Regions from separate parts of the Homo sapiens genome. Here region 1 is linked to region 2. The links are contacts of gene promoters, found by promoter capture Hi-C in blood cells and fetal thymus (Javierre and others, 2016). All regions are on one chromosome and are shown on one strand. The core of a region is centred on a gene start or on the middle of the fragment in contact, and the rest is flanking DNA. Distances in the headings are between cores, read along the strand shown. Region 1 overlaps LINC02210-CRHR1 (LINC02210-CRHR1 readthrough). Region 2 holds the start of SPPL2C (signal peptide peptidase like 2C).

Evidence for each region. The method cuts DNA at HindIII sites, captures the fragments that hold promoters and counts their contacts. A CHiCAGO score of 5 or more calls a contact.
Region 1: a fragment that was not itself captured here is called in contact with the fragment with the promoter of SPPL2C in region 2 in 5 of 17 cell types (megakaryocytes, M0 macrophages, endothelial precursors and 2 more); the score reaches 7.4 in megakaryocytes.

What each region holds. Positions count from the first base shown.
Region 1 is chr17:45,679,759-45,687,591 of GRCh38, forward strand. The region is part of intron 3 of LINC02210-CRHR1 (LINC02210-CRHR1 readthrough); the gene reads left to right. Among named protein-coding and RNA genes, the nearest start is that of LINC02210-CRHR1, 63 kb to the left of the region's middle. The HindIII fragment of the contact is 2,621 bases long and covers 2,394-5,014 here.
Region 2 is chr17:45,840,003-45,847,729 of GRCh38, forward strand. SPPL2C (signal peptide peptidase like 2C) reads left to right here and starts at 4,879. Exons shown (of 1, transcript NM_175882.3): 1 at 4,879-7,065. The coding sequence starts at 4,905. The coding sequence ends at 6,959. It overlaps MAPT-AS1 (MAPT antisense RNA 1), which reads right to left. Exons shown (of 2, transcript NR_024559.1): 2 at 3,354-4,159. RefSeq lists a silencer at 446-655 and enhancers at 4,801-5,785, 5,786-6,769. The HindIII fragment of the contact is 7,159 bases long and covers 1,842-7,727 here.

The DNA.
Region 1 (7,833 bases), core at 2,454-4,953, 160 kb before region 2:
CTGCTGAATCTCTGATTCACAGAAGCTGTGAGATACCAAACGTTTGTTGTTTTAAGCTACTAAGTTGTGGGTCATTTTTTAAATGCAATGATGGGAAACTAATACACAAGTCAGGAGCCACAGCCTTCATCGACAAGCTGAGTGGGTAGGTGAGAGGACTGAGGCAGGCGTGGTACCCAAAGACCTGGACAGAGAACCAGCATTTGTCAGGATGGAGTGCAGTGCTTGGATGTGTGTCCTTCCATTTACTGTTAGTGCTATTACCCCTGTTGTCCATGTCAGGAAACTGGGGCTCAGATAGGTCAGGTCATGTGACCAAGGTTGCCGAGCTCATCGGTGGCACAGCCAGGATTTGAGCCCAGTCTGTCTGCTCTGGTCCATACTTTCCCACTCTTGATGCTGTCTTGATGATCTCAGTGATTTTTGGGCAAGACCCACCGCTTTTGGGGCTTGCATAGAACTTGAGCCGACTGCATGCATATTGATGAGAAGGTTGAACCTGGTGCTCTCTGGCCCTGGATTCTCTAAGTAAGGTGTGTGAACCCTGCTCTCATAGCCTTTGCCCTGTAGGGTGCCCCAGGGTAGGTCAGCTCTGTCTGCTAAAGATCTAGTGAGCCAAGGATGAGGATGTGACAGCTTGGCTTTAAGAGCTCCTGTGCAAACGTGTAGCTTCCTTCAGCAATACCATCTCCTGATTCTCCCTCACAGACATGTGTGCCCAGGTCTGTTTGCAATGACACCAACATCACCCCTGCCCTTGGCCTTGCCCCTCTCTTCACCTCCGTCCTGATTCCTGCTCTGTAGCCACACAGATGCCAACAGCTGGCACTTGTCCAAGAAACATGTGCTCAAGGTCAGGTGCAGTGGCTCATGCCTGTAATCCTAGGTTTTTGGGAAGCTGAGGAGGGAGGATTGCTTGAGGCCAGGAGTTCAAGACCAGCCTGGGCAACATGGGGGTCCTTGTCTCTACTAAAAAAAAAAAAAAAAAAAAAAAAGCTGCACATAGTGCCATGCCTATGGTCCCGGCTACTTGGGAGGCTGAGGCAGGAGGATTGCTTGACTTAAAGAGATTGAGGCTACTATGAACCATAATCATGCCACTACACTTCAGCCCGGGTAACAGAGCGAGACCCTGTCTCAAAAAAAAAAAAAAAAAAAAAACAGAAAAAGAAACGTGCTTGGGGTAATGCATGTTGACTCCATCTTGTCACCCAGAGCTCAGCAGGAGGCACCTTCCTGGGAGAGTCAGATCAGGAGTGCACAGGGCTGGACACAAGCACCTGGGGCAGCCTCGGGAAGCTACTGCTCAGCGGCATCAGAAGATCCTGCCCCTCTCCCGGGGCCTGGGGCATTGCACTTGGCATCTGAAGCCCTTCCTCCACACCCCCTTCTGCAGGTGGGGGCAGAGCCCACTCTGGGATGCCTCCCTCTCCACAGCTCCATGCTTTGATGGGACACTCCCCTGCCACCTCTCTCCCAACCACAGCTTCTACCATAGCCATGGCCAACAGCCTCCATTAGCCTGTGCTTGCAGGACAGTCGAGGGGCTGCCTGGAGCCTCCTGCAACTCCACCCTCATCCTGCTCCACCCTCTCCCTGAAGAACCTCCACAGGCTCTTTGGTCCTGTTTGTGAGGAACCTGGCCCCTCATCCTGCTATTCAGGGCCCTCCAAGCTCTTTCCTGGGCCCTACACCGCACCATCCCTTTTCACAGCAGCCTCTTCCTAAGTGGTTTGAATTTTGGGTCCCCAGGCCTCCTCAAACTGAAACCCCATCTGTAGACACCCTGACTCCCCTCCACCCACCTCCCACACTAGAAGTAGAGGAAAGGCAGATGGATGGGGTGTCTGCCCAGCCTGAGGGGCAAGGTGTGGGGACAGGCAGGGAGGGCAGGCCCCAGGATGGACAGATGGACAAGGCATCTGGCTCTCCCTTTTCCTGAATGGCCATGGGAGGAATGAGGTTGCCACCCCATGCCTCTCACAGAGATGCTGTGAGTGTGAATGAGAACAGCTTGTGAGGGGTTCTGACAGGCATAGCCTGGTGCGGAGACCTTTTGTAACCTTCCGGACCTGGCATTGAACCAGAGGACGGATCATGTGACCCATGTTGCTCGGCCCTTTTAGCCTTCCCGGCTCATGGCTCACATCCCAAATACCCTCACGCTCTGCAGGCGCTCTTAACCTGGGGAGGGGTATGGATTTGTTTGAGGGTAGGAGATGCATTGCCTGTCTTAAATCTACAGCTGTATGCACAAATACTTTTTTATTTTTTTCTGGAGTGTTTGCCGCTTTTCAAAGGCTTTGCGAACCATAAAATGGTCTAACTAACTTGGTACCAGCTTTCCAGTCTAGGCCCACCTGGATGTTTACTCCCAGCAAATCTGGTTTCCAAGCTTAAGGGCTGTCAGCATCCATCCTGATGAAGCACTCGCCTCTTCACTTTGAAATTCTAACACCTAACCTGCTTCAGGGAGATCTGAGATCAGATCGGCACAGTGGGTACATCCTCTATCCTTCTCCTCCTAGGCTGACCTCAGTTTCCCTGCATCCAAATGGATCAGTGTCGGGTTACAGCTACACTCCAGGCTACTGACAATGTTCCCAGTGACAGGTAAATCTCCATCCCATGCAAACATCTTGCATCTGAGCAGCCCCTTTCCAAAGATGTTTTCTTTTGTTTCAAACACGAGGGCTTCTGCCTTGTGCAGGAGTTTTAGTGTGTTTCCCAGAACAGAACTCAGCCTCCTAACCTTAAGTATAAATAGGGTTGTTCACAAGCTAATGACTCTGATCATGGCAAGATGACTTCTATCTTGATCTCACCTAAATTCCTCCTCAATCCGTCTTTAACCTGAGGTCTGAAAGCTGACCACAGCATGTTCACAAAAGCTAAGCAGCAAAGAGAAATGGCTTCCCCAAAGACTGTCCTATCCCAGTACAACTTTGTCTTCTTCTTATTATTATTTTAGATGGAGTCTCGCTCTGTCACCCAGGCTGGAGTGCAGTGGCGCAATCTCAGCTCATTGCAACCTCCTCCTCCCGGGTTCAAGTAATTCTCCTGTCTCAGCCTCCCGAGTAGCTGGGATTACAGGTACCCACCACCACGCCCTGCTAATTTTTTGTATTTTTAGTAGAGACGGGGTTTCACCATGTTGGCCACACTGGTCTCGAACTCCTGACCTTGCGATGTGCCCGCCTCGGCCTCCCAAAGTGCTGGGATTACAGGCATGAGCCACTGCACCCAGCCATTTTTTTTTCACATATAATAAGTTCCTGAAAATGTCTAAGAATATAAATGTATCAAAGTTAGATAATAATCTTACACTATGCAAGAAGGAGGAGAGCCTGGCGGTTAAGAATGTGGACAGTGACCTACCTACACGGGCATAAATCTGCCACTTCCTAGGTGTGTGGCTGAGACCTCTCTGTGCCTCAGTTTTCTGAAAGACGGAATGATTATAGAAACCACCTTATAGGGTTCTTGTGCAAATTAAGTAATATATATATAAAGCGCTCAGAACAGGGTCGTATGCACTGAATATGTTAATAATTATTATTTTATGTTTTAAGGTGGATTCTATACTCAGCTAAAAATAATGACAACTCCCTAATTATATTTTGCTTCTAAGAACATTGATCACTTATAATTTATTTCTAAGGCCTTATTTTCTGGCTGAGTGCAGTAGCTCAAGCCTGTAATCTCAGCACTTTGGGAGGCTGAGGTGGGAGGATTGCTTGAGCCCAGAAGTTTGAGACCAGCCTGGGCAAAATAGTGAGACCGCCATCTCTACAAAAAAAAAAAGTAAAAAGTTAGCCAGGTGTGGTGGCACAAGCCTGTAAGTCCCAGCTACTTGGGAGGCTGAGGTAGAAGATCACTGGAACCCAGGAGGTCAAGGCTGCGTAGGCCATGATCATGTCACATCACTCCAGCCTGGGTGACAGTGAGACCCTAAAAAAGAACAACTATTTTACCCCTCACACATGAATCCAGTCAACCAACTTGAGTTAAATGAACACTGGGCTAAAATGAAAACAACTTTCATTTTTTATTTTTATTTTTAATTAATTAATTAATTAATTTTTTGAGACAGTCTTGCTGTATTGGCCAGGCTGGAGTGCAGTGGCACGATCTCAGCTCACTGCAGCCTCTGCCTCTCAGGTTCAAGAGAATCTCCTGCCTCGGCCTCCCAAGTAACTGAGGCCACAGGTGTGCCACCATGCCCAGTTAATTTTTGCATTTTTTAGTAAAAGCCAAATTTTGCCATGTTGGCCCGGCTGGTCTCAAAACTCCTGACCTGAGGTGATCCTCCCGCCTCAGCATCCCAAAGTGCTGGGATTACAGGCATGAGCCACTGTGCCTGGCCTCATTTTAATTTTAATTATATTAACTTTTTGAGACCCTTTCTTGTTTATTACCTAGTACCTATACTTTAAATTTTCCATTTTTGCTCATTTTTACTATCAATAAACACAACAACATATTCAAACAATTGCATCAACAGGCTATACAATATGAGCCAAGTGGAATAGAGATACTTCAAAAATGGGGCTGCTGGCTGGTAGTTTATGTCACCTCATGACATCCCAACATATTTGCCAGTGGATGTGAAAAAGTCCAGATTTGGTGAAGAAAAATCAATTTAGGAATGTCAAAGTCCAAACCTATAACAGTGGTGATGGTTCAAAAGCCAAAAATCCTTGAGGCTGGGACGTATGTCTGGGTTCATGTCAATGATCTTGTTGGAAGAGCAATTTGTTACCATGAAGTAGGAGACAGATAGTCTTCACTTTGATAACAGACCCATTCCAAGAGAGCTGGCTATAAAGAAACTATTCATAGTGTGAGTCACATTTTTTTAAAAATTCCATTATAAAACTAAGACGGTCTTCTAAAGGAAAATGGAGAGCTTTGAAAAGTTTTGGTGGATAGGGCCAGGTCTTTGTCATGCTGGGATTATGGTGAGAGAGATTTGAAAGCACTTTTAGTAATTGCTGTTCCTTCCTGTAGCTGAAGCTTCAAGGGGAGCTTCTTTTCTTTTTTCTTTTTTTTTTAAACACAAGTTTCCACTTTTATTAGTTTTATATAATGATGCACCAAGGTTCGTCTTGGGCCTCAGAATTTAGCTAATGTATGTGTTTTCTTTTCTTTCTTTTTTTTTAAATTTTATTATTATTATACTTTAAGTTCTAGGGTACATGTGCACAACGTGCAGGTTTGTTACACATGTATACATGTGCCACGTTGGTGTGCTGCACCCATTAACTCGTCATTTAGCATTAGGTATATCTCCTAATGCTATCCCTCCCCACTCCCCCTACCCCACAACAGTCCCCGGTGTGTGATGTTCCCCTTCCTGGTCCGTGTGTTCTCATTGTTCAATTCCCACCTGTGAGTGAGAACATGCGGTGTTTGGTTTTTTTGTCCTTACGATAGTTTGCCGAGAATGATGGTTTCCAGCTTCTGGAAATACGGTGAAATTTACGGCAGACTGCCTAAGTTTACAAGGAGCAACAGATACTCCAGGCTACCTCCTCAGTGTGGCCTGATCCCTCCCCCTTTTATTCTCCTAGAGAGTGTCTCACATTATAGCTGATAACACTCACTAATGTCTCCATTTCTTTTTTCTTTTCTTTTCGTTTTTTGAAGACAGGTTTGTTTTGTTGCCTAGGCTGGAGTGCAATGGTGCAGTCATGGCTTATTGCAGCTGTAATCTCACAGACTCAAATGATCCTCTAGCCTCAGTCTCCCAAGTACTTGGGACTGCAGGCATGAGCCACCAGGCCCAGCTAATTTATTTTTATTTTCATTTTTGTGGAGACAGGGTCCCTCTATGTTGTCCAGGTTGGTCTCCATCTCCTGGGATCAAGCAGTCCTCCTGCTTTGGCCTCCCAAAGTGTTAGGATTACAGGCGTGAGCCCCCGCACCTGGCCTTCAGTTCTTTTTCACCACATTTCATTGTGTCCTTTTGCGATTGGGGTTTAGATAGCTAGAGGTGGAGTTCTTTACTTTCCTGACAGTTAGGGTTTATGCAGTCTTGGTATGCTCCCTTCTTTGATGGCTACATTCTGGAAGCTGGGGAAGACGCGTGTAAGCCTGAGCAGTATGTCTGGCACCGAAACATCAAGAGAGCCCTGATGCCACCCGAGGCCTTCACATGTTGACGAGATGGCTATGTATACACAAGGGCTCCTGCGGCGGGCGGAGTGGGGGATGCCATCACCAGATAGAACTTCATAAGACAAAACATCAAATTCCTTCCTTCCCCTCTCTTAGTAATGGTCCGCCCTATTTAATCCTGGGATGTGAGTTCTTTTGGTGATGGGGGTTTGCTGAATTGATAGGGAATGGTGCCAGTGGTTATGTCCGAGTGGCATTGAACCATAGAAACATTTCTGAATGTTTCTTCTATTTCTATCCCCTAATCTTTTCATGCCACTAGGCATGTGAGGCCAACATGGCCTTCTAAGCTTCTACAGTCAGCCTGGCTGCCACTGTCCCTGCATGATTTTGGCGACTCTAAGGAAGTCCCAGAGACCAAGGAGAGTCCAGTCTTGTGGTCCTGGCCAGAACTGAAATTTCACCATTGACTTTGTCATCGTGCTGTGTGCTTCTCCAAACCACAAGGGTTCCTCCTGCTTCCGGGGGCCTCAGCTCTATCCTTGCAGCTCTCGTGAGCCTCAAGTTCTCATGCAGTTTTCAGATTAGGTGGTTCCAGGAACTCACACCTATCTCCTTTCTCCTGTGCCATTGTCAGAGATGACAGCAGATCATGTTCCACAGTGGGAATGGCCAGTTAACATATGCAACACTTCCCTTTGAAAGCACCTTAAGTGGAGAATTCTAGAAAATAAACCAGGCTGGGCATGATGGCTCATGCCTATAATCCCAGCACTTTGGGAGGCCGAGGTGAGAGGCTGCCGAGGTGAGAGGCTCACGAGGTCAGGAGTTTGAGACCAGCCTGACCAACATGGTGAAACCCTGTCTCTACTAAGAATACAAAAATTAGCTGGGCATGGCGGCACACACCTGAAATCCCAGCTACTCAGGAGGCTGAGGCCGGAGAATTGCTAGAACCCGGGAGGCGAAAGTTGCAGTGAGCTGAGATCATACCACTGCACTCCAGTCTGGGTGACAGCAAGACTCCATCTCAAAAAAAAAAAAAAAAAAAAAAAAGAGAGAAAAAAACTTGCCCACTTTCATCAATCTTGGAAGCTCAGACCTTAGTAAAATTTATTTATTTCAAAGAAGGTGCAATAAAATTGTTCAAGCCCACTTGGAAATCCATTGTAAGAGGTGCTGGCATTTTGAAAAATCATTTTGCTGATTGCGAGAGTAATACATGCTCATTGCAAATAATTAAGAAAATACAAAAAGGTACATAGAAATAAAATCTCCCAAGATGTTACCTCTCAGAAATAACCATTATTAGCATTTAATATGCCACTCCTTTTTCTGTGCACAGCAATTTATAAAATTACATGGTACTTTATCTACAATTTTTCATCTTGCTTTTTTCACCTTAAACAACCAGAACATTCTTCCATGTCATCGTCTACTCTTCAAAAACACCGTTTTAATGACTACATAATATTTCATTGTCTGGTTGTACCAGGATTTATTTAGCCAGTTCTCTATTTGCAGGCTTCTAGGAGGTTTCTTATTTTTCATGATTATAAATGATGCTGCAGTGAATATTCTTGTCCAGGAAATCTTTATCTGGGTTTCTGATAATTTCCTTAGAAGAGATTCCAAGAAGGGAAATTGTGGAGTCTCAATTCTGCTGGGTGTTACCTGTCTCCTATGGATGCTCAGAAAGGCGGAGTGGCTCCT
Region 2 (7,727 bases), core at 3,629-6,128:
GGGGGCATGGGGGCAGCAGCTGGTGGGCCTGCCTGGCTCATCCTCATCACAGGGGAAGGGGGAGGGAGTGGATGGCAATCCACTCTAGAACATGCAGCGGGGAAGCTGCTGGGCAGGGCAGCAAGGGCAGGTGAGGGGCCAGGTGAACTAGGCCCCTTCCCCACCCTTCCTGAGACCTGCTGCCTGGGGCCTGCTGGCCCTGCTGCCCTGTGTGTTGAAGATAAATGTTCCAGGTGCACCTAGGTCCTCAAGTAGAAGGCAGAGACACTACCCCAGCCTGCTCTGGGCAGCCACCCCGAGAGCCCAGGCCATAGCTGAGGGGGCAGTAGGGTGGGGGGAGGGAGGGGGAGTTGTGGGGAGCAAAGTCACAGATACAGGGGGTGCCCTCCAGGAAAGGAGTTGAATCTGGAGTGGGGGTGGGGAGGGTGGCGGGACTGAAGTCTTGGAGCGGGATTTCAGCCTGGCAGTGGGCCATGGCCCCAAGGGGCATCAGCCACTCATGTGAGGGCACTGACCAGTGCTCTGAGTGGCCACCAGAGGAATGATTCCAGGGCTGATGGATGGGGGTGGGCACAGGGATGGGGGACCTGGGGAAGCAATGATCAAACATACCCACGAAAGCCTTCTGTGAGTGGGGTCCCAGGCAGAGTCTCGGAGGGAATGAGCCTTCTGCGAATTATCTGGGCCCTGGGCAACCAGTCCACGGGTAGATCTGGGAGAAGGGGCAGGAGCAAGCTCTGCTTGAGGTGTCTGTGCAGACCCCCAAATTGGGGCATGTGCTGGTGTGATGGAGTCCAGAAGAACTAAAATGAGACCTGTCCTGAGGAGAGAGCAGCTGGAGGGGACTGGAGTTGCTCCATTTCGTCTGGGCGCTGTGGCTCACACCTGTAATCCCAGCACTTTGGGAGGCCAAGGTGGGTGAATCACTTGAGGCCAGGAGTTCGAGACCAGCCTGGCCAACATGGTGAAACCCTGTCTCTCCTAAAAATACGAAAATTAGCTGGGCATGGTGGTGGTGCATGCCTGTAATCCCAGCTACTCGGGAGGCTAAGGCAGGAGAATCACTTGAACCCGGGAGGTGGAGGTTGCAGTGAGCTGAGATTGTACCACTGCACTCCAGCCTGAGGGACAAGAGCGAAATTCCATCTCAAAAAAAAGTCCCATTTCAACCATGTTAGTGCACAATTCAGTGACTTTAAATACACAATGTCGTGCAACTGAAACCACTGAGATAGAAAAAGTTCTGGAACTTCTTCATCACCCCAGATGGAAATCCCATACCCACCAGTCACTCCTCATTCTCCCCTCCCCCAGCCCCTGCCCGCCACGAATCTGCTCTCTGCCTCTGTAGATCTGCCTGTTTTGGCTGTTTCACGTAAGTGGAATTAATCGTACAATATGTGTCCTTTTGTGTCTGGCGTCTTCATTTAGCATAATGTGTTTCCACTTAGCATAATGTGTTTCGGCTTAGCATAATGTTTTCAAGGTCCATCCACATGGTAGCAGGTATCAAAACGTCATTCCTTCTTATGGCTGAATGCTATTCCCTTGTGTGGAGAGACCGCAGTTTCTCCATTCATCAGTGGATGGACATATGGGTTCTCTCCACCTATTCCAAGTTATCATGAATAGTCCTGCTATGAGCATGCATGTACACGCTTTTGTTTGAAGGCCTGATTTCAATTCTTTGGGATATATAGCTGGGAGTATAAGTGCTGGGTCATATGATAACTCTGCTTAACTTATCTAGGAACCACCAAGCTGTTTCCTGCAGCGGCTGCACAATTTTCCATTCCCACCAGCAGTGTATGAGGGTCCCAACTTCCCTATATCCTCGACAAAGCTTGTGATTGTCTGGGTTTTGTGACAAAGTGGGTGTGCTGGTTCTTGTTTTTTAAAAGATCCACGACTCCCTGCGTGGAGAACAGGGCCTGGAGTGAGGGTCTAGGTTGCCCATTCGTTGCTGGGGGGCCAGAAAGGGTTTTACTGTCACAGCCCTCCTGTGGCCTACAGGCGAGCCTCCCTCTCCTAACCACCCTCCTGCCAACCTCCCCTTTGAAATGGGAGCACTCGGAAGGGACAGCTGGCAGCCTCCTCCCCTGGGCTCTGCCTGCTTCTCCTCACACCGGCTGGTGGTTTGTTTGCCAGTCACTTGTATTTGTTCCTGAACATGTTTCTGACAGTTCACTTGTCATTGTAATTACTGTCGTAATCTAACTAAATGTTATATTACTGATGAATCAGAAGTGCACTAACAAGGAGAGATGTTTCTTATGAAAATTCAGTCTAATGCTTTGAAGGATACTTTACAAATGAGTCACCAAAAATATTGGCAAATTAGGTGTGGGTGAGATGAGTGTAAATAACTGGGTGAGAGAGAATTGTCAGAATCTCAGATGGGTTCCACTTGCTGACCACTTCACATGGCCCTTTAAACTCACCCTCCACTTCAAAGAATCCACAGCTGATGTTGGAGATGATGTTTCATCCCTGTGGATTTCCCAAGGAAAGCAGTTTGGGACTGCAAGAGATGGACCCGTAATAGAAGGAGAGGCCTTGACAGGCACGGTGGCTCACGCCTGTAATCCCAGCACTTTGGGGGACCAAGGTGGCTGGATCACCTGAGGCCAGGAGTTTGAGACCAGCCTGGCTAACATGGTGAAACCCCATGTCTACTAAAAATACAAAAATTAGCCAGGTATGGTGGTGGGCGCCTATAATCTCAGCTACTTGGGAGGCTGAGGCAGGAGAATCGCTTGAACTTGGGAGGTGGAGGTTGCAGTGAGCCAAGATTGTGCCACTGCACTCCAGCCTGCCTAGGGGACAGAGTGAGACTCCATCTCAAAGAGAAAAGAAGGAGAGTCCTTGAGAAAGATCAGTGATTGGCCAGGCACAGTGGCTTGTGCCTGTAATCTCAGCACCTCGGGAGGCTGAGGTGGGCGATTCACTTAAGGCCAGGAGTTCGAGACCAGCCTGGGCAAAATGGTGAGACACCATCTGTACTAAAATCACAAAAATTAGCTGGGCATGGTGGCACACACCTGTAATCCCAGCTACTCGGGAGGCTGGGTCGGGGGAGAATTGCTTGAAACCAGGAGGTGGAGTTTGCAGTGAGCTGAGATCGTGCCACTGCACTCCAGCCGAGCAACAGAGCAAGACCCTGTCTCAAAAAAAAAAAAAAAAAAAAATCAGCATGCTTACTCCTTAGAGGTTAAAATTACATGTGTGTTGTGGGGCTGCCCACAATTGTGCCCCCAAATAGGCATGTTGAAGTCCTAAACCCCAGTACCTGTTAATGCGACCTTATTTGGAAGTAGGGTGTTTGCAGACATAATCAAGTTAAGATGGTGTCATTAGGGTGGGCCCTAATCCATTATAACTATGTCTTTATAAAGAAGAGAAGAGACACAGAGACACACAGGGAGAATGCCATGTGACAACCTATGCAGAGACTGGAGTGACAGGCCAGGCCAGTGGGGAGAACATGAGGACAATGGAACCTGGACTGCCAAGCTCCAGCCCCCAAATCCCTCCCTTCTGGTTCCGGAGGCCCCAGGGTTACTCTCCCGCACACTAACTGCTTTGAAAACCTCATTCCTCAAATCTACTCCATCATGGGTGGCCTGAAGAAGCCTGGACAGGAGGTCCTGGGTGACCTGTGAGGGCATACACCACAGAGCTGGGTGCAAACCTGCAGAGCCAAAACCTGGGGCTCCTGGCTTCAAATCCACCTCTCACCAGTATTTGAGTTCTCTTTCCAGCGGAAAGTCTGCCCGGCCTCAGAGTTGCAGCCAGGAGAGTGGCTCAGAATCCAGCATGAAAACATTTGGAAGACATCAAGGTCCATTTAACCAGCACAAGAGCCCCAGCCTTCTTTGCTGTGTCAATGTGGGCTTCTCCAAGCCTCAGTTTTACTTATCCATGAAGTGGGTGTATTAAGGTAACGTTAAGTGGCTATAACAAAGAGACTCATGACAAATCAATGCCTTAAGGAAGATCATGTCTCTCTCTTGTAACAGTCCATAGTGCACATCCTGGGCTACTGTTCCACATGGAATCCAGGGACCTGGTTCCCTTCACTTTCTTCCTCTCCATTCCTTAGGACATTGTCCTCCTCGTCATAGACAGACACATCACAGGCCCGTCCTTGTTCTGACTCCTGAGAAAGGGAAAGAGAGGGTAAACCAGGAGCCCCACGGTCTGTCAGCCTAAGCCCCTGATGTAAAGAGTTCACATCATTTTTGCTTAATTTCTCCTGGTCACCTGTCCGTTCCCAACTGTAAATGGAGTTGGAGGTGAATTCTGGTCATGTGCCTGGTAGAAATGGGGACCAACTTTGAGGGACAGCCTCAGGCTGTGCAGATATAATGACACCTCCTTGCAACTGTGCAATAGGTACAGCTAGGGTACCTGGCGCCTAGTAAGCCCTCGGTAAAAGTGCTCAATGTTACTGAGCTCAGAGCTCCAAGGGACCTTAGAAACTCTCTGGCCCAACGTCCTCATTTCTTTACAGCTAAAGAAACAGGCCTAGAGAGGAGTGACATTGGCCTGTGTTCCCCATGGGTAAGGAGAAAAGTTGGTTCAGAATCCTATCTGGCCTGCAAACCCCATGCTCACACCTTTTATTTCAAAGTACCTGGTCTAAACCCACTAGGGTCTGGGCAGAGAGCAGGGTCCATATGACCTCTCCCCTGGTCTCCCAGGGTTGGGGGGCATCATTCTAGAGGGACCCTGTGCCCCACAGCAGCGCCCTCGGCTGGGGACCACACAGCTTTATGACTAGGTAGGTGTGGCCCTGGTTTCCAGGACAGGTGGCCAGACTGCTCTGTGACAAAGGGCCACGCCTGCCCCTGGGAGGGGTATTGGGCTGCCGCCCGCAGATGTTGCAGTAGGAACTGAAGAAGATGGCGTGCCTGGGCTTCCTCCTCCCCGTGGGCTTCCTCCTCCTCATCAGCACCGTGGCCGGGGGAAAGTACGGCGTGGCCCACGTGGTGTCGGAGAATTGGAGCAAGGACTACTGTATCCTGTTCAGCTCCGACTACATCACCCTCCCCCGGGACCTGCACCACGCCCCACTCCTGCCCCTGTATGATGGCACCAAGGCACCCTGGTGCCCGGGTGAGGATTCCCCCCACCAGGCCCAGCTCCGCTCCCCCAGCCAGCGGCCCCTCCGCCAGACCACTGCCATGGTCATGAGGGGTAACTGCAGCTTCCACACGAAAGGCTGGCTGGCTCAGGGCCAAGGTGCCCACGGGCTGCTCATCGTGAGCCGGGTCAGTGACCAACAGTGCTCAGACACCACCCTGGCACCCCAGGATCCCCGCCAGCCCCTGGCAGACCTCACCATCCCTGTGGCTATGCTCCACTATGCTGACATGCTGGACATCCTCAGCCACACTCGTGGGGAGGCCGTCGTCCGCGTGGCCATGTACGCACCCCCAGAGCCCATCATCGACTACAACATGCTGGTCATCTTCATCCTGGCTGTGGGCACAGTGGCTGCAGGCGGCTACTGGGCCGGCCTGACCGAAGCCAACCGGCTACAGCGGCGCCGTGCCCGAAGAGGAGGGGGGTCTGGTGGTCACCATCAGCTGCAGGAAGCTGCAGCAGCTGAGGGAGCCCAGAAGGAAGATAATGAGGACATCCCAGTGGACTTCACGCCGGCCATGACAGGCGTGGTGGTCACCCTGTCCTGCTCGCTCATGCTGCTGCTCTACTTCTTCTATGACCACTTTGTCTATGTCACCATTGGGATCTTTGGCCTGGGTGCTGGCATTGGCCTCTACAGCTGCCTGTCACCCCTGGTGTGCCGCCTGTCCCTGCGGCAATACCAGAGGCCTCCGCACAGCCTCTGGGCCTCTCTGCCGCTGCCTCTGCTGCTGCTGGCGAGCCTGTGCGCAACCGTGATCATCTTCTGGGTGGCCTACCGCAATGAGGACCGCTGGGCGTGGCTCCTGCAGGACACACTGGGCATTTCCTACTGCCTGTTCGTCCTGCACCGTGTGCGGCTGCCCACTCTCAAGAACTGCTCCTCCTTCCTGCTGGCCCTGCTGGCCTTTGATGTCTTCTTTGTCTTCGTCACCCCCTTCTTCACCAAAACCGGTGAGAGCATCATGGCGCAGGTTGCCTTGGGCCCTGCAGAGTCTTCAAGCCATGAGAGGCTGCCCATGGTACTCAAAGTGCCCCGGCTAAGAGTCTCCGCCTTGACCCTGTGCAGCCAGCCCTTCTCCATCCTTGGCTTCGGTGACATTGTGGTCCCCGGCTTCCTGGTTGCTTACTGTTGCCGCTTTGATGTGCAAGTCTGCTCCCGTCAGATCTACTTCGTGGCCTGCACCGTGGCCTATGCTGTGGGCCTGCTGGTCACATTCATGGCCATGGTCCTCATGCAGATGGGCCAACCTGCCTTGCTCTACCTAGTGTCCAGCACCCTGCTCACCAGCCTGGCTGTGGCTGCCTGCCGCCAAGAGCTCAGCCTCTTCTGGACTGGCCAGGGCAGAGCTAAGATGTGTGGGCTCGGCTGTGCCCCTTCAGCTGGCTCTAGGCAGAAGCAGGAGGGCGCAGCAGATGCCCACACAGCCAGCACACTTGAGAGAGGCACCAGCCGAGGAGCAGGGGACTTAGACAGCAACCCTGGAGAAGACACCACTGAGATTGTCACCATATCTGAGAATGAAGCCACCAATCCAGAGGACCGCAGTGATAGCTCCGAGGGCTGGAGTGACGCCCACTTGGATCCTAATGAGCTGCCCTTCATCCCCCCTGGGGCCTCGGAGGAGCTGATGCCACTGATGCCAATGGCCATGCTGATCCCACTCATGCCCCTGATGCCCCCGCCCTCAGAGCTGGGCCATGTCCATGCCCAGGCCCAGGCCCACGAGACTGGCCTGCCCTGGGCGGGACTCCACAAGAGGAAGGGTTTGAAAGTAAGAAAGAGCATGTCGACCCAGGCTCCCTTGTGAACTGGAGGCACTGGGACACACGCCTCTCAAAGGGCTGGTGGAACATTGCAGAGCAAAGCCATGCATGGCAACAAGAAATCAGGGTATCAAAGAGATTTCATATCTACCCAAGGAGTCTCTCTGTTTGTCGGGAGTGCAAGAGAGCAGCAACCACATAATAAGAGTGTGCAGGGCTCGAAGGGTCCTTAGGAGTGGGCACCACCCCCAAATAATGAAGGGGGGAAACTGAGGCTCCAAGAGGGCCTATGACTTGCACAAGTTCAAGCGGCAAGGTCGGGATTTGCATCCAGGGCTCACTGGGCAGCTACTCCCCTCTGCCTGCTTGCCCAACCCCTTCCCAATCCAGAGTGGCAGCTTCTTAGCCTGGCACACAGCCCCCATCCCATCCCTGCCACCCACCCTAGGCTCATTGCCCATCTTCTCTCCATGCTCAGGTCAAACAGAACTCCTTGTCCTCCCCACCCGCTCTCTCTGCATATGCTGTTCCCTCCAGCTGGGATGCCCTTCCCTCTCCAGACAGAAACACTCCAGCCTGGCTCCCTGACTCACTAGAAGATTCCGAAGCATCCTTTACTCCTCAGCTCACATCCATTCTGCAAAACGTCTCTGTTCAAGAATCCCAGGCAGCAGCACCAAGCCCAGCAAGTTCCTGTATGCACCACCCATTCCATCTTCAGGCATTGAGTATGCCCCTACTATGTGCATCGCCATGTGGTGGGCACAGGGAAGGCCTCTGTCTAGCTGGGGGAGGGGGAGGGGTGGGCAGAC